2 separate regions of the Homo sapiens genome follow, and region 1 is linked to region 2. Evidence: promoter capture Hi-C in 16 types of primary human blood cells and fetal thymus (Javierre and others, 2016). All regions are on one chromosome and are shown on one strand. Each heading gives the region's core, a stretch centred on a gene start or on the middle of the fragment in contact. The rest is flanking DNA. Distances are from core to core; before and after follow the strand shown.

The links. Contacts are between HindIII fragments. The CHiCAGO score rates a contact against its expected background, and 5 or more counts as called.
Region 1: a fragment that was not itself captured here is called in contact with the fragment with the promoter of XYLB in region 2 in 2 of 17 cell types (non-activated CD4 T cells and naive CD4 T cells); the score reaches 8.2 in non-activated CD4 T cells.

What each region holds. Positions count from the first base shown.
Region 1 is chr3:38,649,851-38,652,550 of GRCh38, reverse strand. No RefSeq gene overlaps it. Among named protein-coding and RNA genes, the nearest start is that of SCN5A, 1.5 kb to the right of the region's middle. The HindIII fragment of the contact is 703 bases long and covers 1,006-1,708 here.
Region 2 is chr3:38,345,498-38,348,197 of GRCh38, reverse strand. It overlaps XYLB (xylulokinase), which reads right to left and starts at 1,413. Exons shown (of 19, transcript NM_005108.4): 1 at 1,273-1,413. The coding sequence starts at 1,329. RefSeq lists enhancers at 1-804, 805-1,636 and silencers at 937-996, 1,007-1,246. The HindIII fragment of the contact is 4,748 bases long and covers 139-2,700 here.

The DNA.
Region 1 (2,700 bases), core at 108-2,607, 300 kb before region 2:
ACAATACTACCTGTTTTACAAGGATGTGCACATAAAGACCTACTTTAGCTCCTAGAGGGGTGCCTGTGTGGAGAAGGAGATGGCAGTGGAGTGATGATGGGGGAAGAAATAAAACAAAAACACAAGAGAGGAGTAATGATATGGTTAACCCAGCTTTGAACCTGAGGCAAAGTAAAGGCAAACCCTGGGCGAAACTGAGGGGCGAATAAAGGACATACTAGTTTTTAAAAACATTTATCTCTGACAGCTGACAACATGTTCCTGTTATTGCTTTAATTAAATAGGGTTGGCCAGACATGGTGGCTCACGCCTGTAATCCCAGCACTTTGGGAGGCCGAGGTGGGTAAATCACGAGGTCAGGAGTTCGAGACCAGCCTGGCCAACATGGTGAAACCCCGTCTCTACTAAAAATACAAAAAATTAGCTGGGCATGGTGACGAGCACCTGCAATCCCAGAGACTCAGGAGGCTGAGGCAGGAGGATTGCTTGAACTGGGGAGGCGGAGGTTGCAGTGAGCCGAGATCACGCCACTGCACTTCAGCCCTGGAGGCAATGCAAGACTCCGTCTCAAACAAAACAAAACAAAACAAAACAAAAAATTTAAATAGGGTCTGGCAAAGAGAAGGGAGTAGCCAAGATCTTGGCAAGGGCTCTTTGTAGGAAGTGCCTGTCTCCAGACACCTGTTGCCTGTCTCTGCACTCTGAGGCCTCTCTAGGACCACAAGGTGTGCTTTTATGGATGAACTTCTACAGGTTCAGAGCTCTGGTTCCCCATCCCCTGGGCTTCTCTCCCCCTGTTTAAATTCAGGGTGCATGTAGACTTACCAGGCTCAGCCCACCTCTCCTGCTGGCAACATCCAGTTGCCCAATACTAAACAGGAGAGTGAAAACCCCACTTCTGCTACATATGGACGGAAGGGAGGCAGGTATCCACCCCTACTCCCAGCAGCTTCTATCCTAGCCTTGTCTCCTGCTTGACCCAATGTCAGTTTGCAAGTAGAAGCTTCATTCTGAGGCCGAGAAGCCCGTGATGGAAGTTCTTAGGGGAGGTAGGACCTTCCTGCTACTGTACTCTCCTGCCTGGTAGGTGTGACTCTGGGAAGGCGGCTGCACGTGGGTTGAAACGTTGACACTGCCTGCACTTCCCCTTCTGGCCGATAGTGGGAGCTGCTAGCCAACCTGAGGCTCGTCAGGCGCTAAAGGCTGGCAGCCGACCTGTGTGGTCCATCCGTCTGTACCCCAGACACCCCACTCAACTCGGGGCCGGAGAGGCCCATGTCCTGAACTTTCCTGTGGACTGACTTTCCTACTGATCCCCTCCTGCAAGCAGAGCAGCCCCTCCGTATGTACCTAAGGCGTCCAACGAAGCCCCACACCCAGGTCGCAAACGGACGCTGTCCCCCACCCCCCTCTTTGCCCTCCCACCTCTTCAAGATCCCCATCATGGAGGAGCAGGTCCCAGCCTCTGGGCTCCCAAACCCAGCACCTCTGTGCCCTCTGAGACCCTGGCACCCATTTGGCTCTCTAAGAGCGGTTCTTGCTTTTGGGAGCCCTGAAAATGTGGCAGAAAAGTGTACCATCCCTTCCAATGACTGTACTTTTTTCGTGGGCAAAAGCTGATGGCCTGTTTTTTGTTGTTGTTTTGTTTTGTTTTTGTTTTTGTTTTTAGAAGCGCAAGATTTATTGTGAAGAGGGAAAGAACAAAGCTTCCACAGCGTGGAAGGGGACCCAAGCGGGTTGCCCTGATGGCCTGTTTTGTTTAAACAAGAAGTGTGTCCCCATAGGTCCTGGGCATGGGCATGGGAGCAACTGTTTGTCAGCGTATGTCTCCGTGTGTGTGTGCCTGTGACCATGTCTCTGAGTGAGAAACAGTGGGTGTGTAAGTATGTGACTCCAGGCTCTGCATGTGTCAAGGTGAAGGTTGTATGTGGCTCAAGAGGGTGGAAGTATATATATAAAGAGGTATATACATGTATATATATGTATGTGTGTGTGTGTGTTTGCGCGCGCGCGTGTGTGGGTGTCTCTGTGTTGGTTGCCTGCTTGCTTCTGGGTCTGGGTGTGTGTTTGGTTCTGTCAGCATGTGCGTCCGTGTGTTCAGGTAGATGTGTACCATTGTGCAGATTTCTGTGGCATCACTAAGTGTGTCTCCAGGAAAGTGTGGTTCGAGTGAGTGTGTGTGTCTCTGTGTCAGTGTGTCAGTGGATGTGTGTCTAAGTCATGTGGGTGTCTAAGTTTGTCAGAGTGTCTTCCTCAGTGTCAGTGTGTGTCAATGATGTGTCTGTCTGTGTCTGTGTGGGTGTGTGGGGGTGTGTATCTGTCTCAGGGTGCATGTGTGTGTCTGTGTCAGTGCAGGTATGCCTATGGCAGCGTGTGTCTGTCTCGGCATGAGTGTCAGTGTATGCCCGTGTCCACGTGGGTGGGTGGGTGTCTGGTAGCCTTCCCAAGTCAGCAAGGTTGCGTGTGTGTGTGTGTATACTCTGGCGGGTGCTGGTGTGTATGCCAGTGTTTGTTAATGTGAGCCTGTCCGCGTCCGCGTGGGTGGCCATCTGTGGTGAAGCGTCGCCGGGTCGCCGTGTGTGTACCCCCGCCTATGTCTGTCTGTCCGCGGCCGCGTGTGCGGCTGTCTGTGGCTGTGAGCCCCCGGGTCAGTGTGGGAGTGTGCGCCCCGGCGGGCGCTGGTGTGTCCCCCCTCCGAGC
Region 2 (2,700 bases), core at 164-2,663:
ATGGGAAGCAAGGTTTGGAGGCATCTCTGGGGATCCATGTCTGCAGAGGCCTGAGACCAGGCAAGGCCATGGGCTATTCTCACAGGCCATGATTGTGGTCCAGAGACATTAATGTCCCACTGAAGCAATCTCCAAGCTTGGGAGTATAACTCCTTTCCTGGACAGATGGGAAAACTGAGGTCCAGCAAGGCAACTCGAGTCATCCAGAGTCCCACAGGACGTTCCCCCAAGGACTGGCCAGAGGCCTGCCTCCCTTGACCCATTCGAGAAGAGGGGTTTGACTGCAACTGTGTATATTTCCCAAGTACTTTAAAGGAAAAGGTGCCCCCGGTCACCCCATGCCCTCTTTGAAGGCAAATTTTGATTTGCTTGCCTGTCTGCAGGGCGTTGGCAGCAGCACACTGCTCCTCTGGCCAGCAGTCCTGGGTGCACAGACCAGGCAAGCTGGTGTCAACGAAGGGCGGTCACAGGGTAAAGTCCACTTGTACACTATGCATTTCACTTTTTTCTTTTTTTTTTTTTGAGACAGGGTCCCGTTCTGTCGCCCAGGCTGGAGACCGGTGACGCCATCTTAGCTCACTGCAATCTCCACCTCCTGGGCTCAAGCGATCCGCTTCAGCCTCCAGAAAAACTGGGACTACAGGTGTGCTCCACCATGCCCGGCTAATTTTTGTATTTTCTGGTAGAGACCGGGGTTTCTCCATATTGCCCAGGCTGGTCTCGAACTCCTGGGCTCAAGCGATCCACTCGCCTCGGCCTCCCAAAGTGCTGGGATTACCGGCAAGAGCCACCAGGCCTGGGCCATTTCAATTTTTAAAAAAAGGTTTTGGGCTATAATCTGCTTCCAGGTCACTGGTTGTGCATGTGCGCAGGGCTACCCGCCTGTCTGTTCCCCTGCCTTACAGTAGCTGACTTCCTTCGGATCCCCGTCACTGGGTGCCCAGAACAGCGCAGGAACCCGCCGAGTCCTCCGGCCCCTCTGGGCACCGGGGGTCCTGCCGAGGAGCGCCTGCAGTTTCCTGGGGTAGCTGGGTCCAGGCGGGGTCGAGGCCGCATCTTGCGAGCGGGTGGCATTGGCAGGGCATCTCCGGGCGAGGGCACCGGCGCCCCACGGCCGCGCGCAGGGCAGGGGCGCGGGGGCCCCGGGAAGCCCGAGAGGTAGGCGCGCCCGCGGCCGGGCCCATGTTTTCCCGCGTCCGGGTGACAGCCCGCCCCCTACCCCCACCGAAGCGGAGGAGGCGGCCCCGTGGCCCTGCGGCCAGGCGACTGTACCTGCTGCGTGCTGAAGTCCCAGCCCAGGCAGCAGCGGCGAGGGGCGTGCTCCGCCATGGCCTTTCGGGTAAGGCTGCGCGTCCGTCAGTCCGTCCGTCCGCCACGCGGCGTGATAGTCGCCGCGCTCCAGCGCCCAGAGACGCAGGGGCCCGCCCCTAGCTCCGCCCGGCCGGACTGTGGACCGGAGTCACGAGGCGGGCTTGCGCTCTGGCGCCGCCTGCGGGGCTACGCGAGCCGGGACCGCGTCCTGTGCAATCGACGGTGCCCCCACGCAGCCCGCTTTCCTTCGAAGCGCACCCCCTCTGGTTCTCCCCATCTTCATCTTATGTCTTCATGGGCCGTGCCCTGACACCGCCTGGCTTCCCTTAGAGGACGCCTGGGCCAGAGGTTTCAGCTATAAGCCGGCTTGTCTTTCAGAGGGAGCCTGCCTGTCCTTCTGGAGGCCCTGGGCCTGCCGTCCTCTGTGGCTGTATCTTGGCACTGGAGCAGCTGTCCACCCATGGTGGTGACTCAGGGGCCACAGGGAAATGGGCCCTGGGGTTGGAAGCACTGAGTCCTGACAAGCCCTATCCAGATCCAGCAAATCTGAATGGTTCCCAGTGTGTCACATCCCACCTGTGTATTTAAACTCAGCGGCTCCTGATGCCCCCACGGGGAGACACTCCTTCCTGGAGTCAATTGGTATTGATGGTCTAATGTGTGCCAGGCATGGTAAAGGGGAATGAGAACCAGAGTCAGACCCACTCCTTTTATTCATGGAGCTGAGGGCGCCTGTCCCACCAGCTACATCCTTCCCGTCCCTAAGACTAACTGCTTTCCAGAATTCCTCCCCAAACCCAGCATGTGAGAGGCTCCTCCTACGAACTTCCCAGCCCACCAGTGCCCTTTTCATGCACTTGCAATGGTCTGTCTCCCTTGCTGAACTTGAGCTGCTTGGAGTCTACATGGGATCCTCTTCACTGCTAGAACAAGAAGGGGCCAACATACTTGTCCTCCAAGACATTCACAGCTTATTGGGGACTCAGCCCCTCCAGCAGTCACCACCTGTGACAATAGACAAATACTGGATACTAGCTAGATCAGAAACAATTATGCAACCTGCTGAGCACATTTAATCGTCACAATGATGCTGGGAAGTAGGTACTATTATCTCCACTTTTAAAAAATTTTAAATAAAGGTATCTAAGTATCTAATCTAATTAAGATTAGATTACTGCATTTTAATCTAATCTTAACTGCTTGATGACTTTTTTTTTTTTTTTTGACAGAGTTTCACTCCTGTCACCCAGGCTGGAGTGCAGTGGCGTGATCTCCGGTCACTGCAACCTCCACCTCCCTGGTTCAACTGATTCTTCTGCCTCAGCCTCCCATGTAGCTGGGATTACAGGCGCACACCACCGCACCCAGCTAATTTTTTTTTTTTTTTGA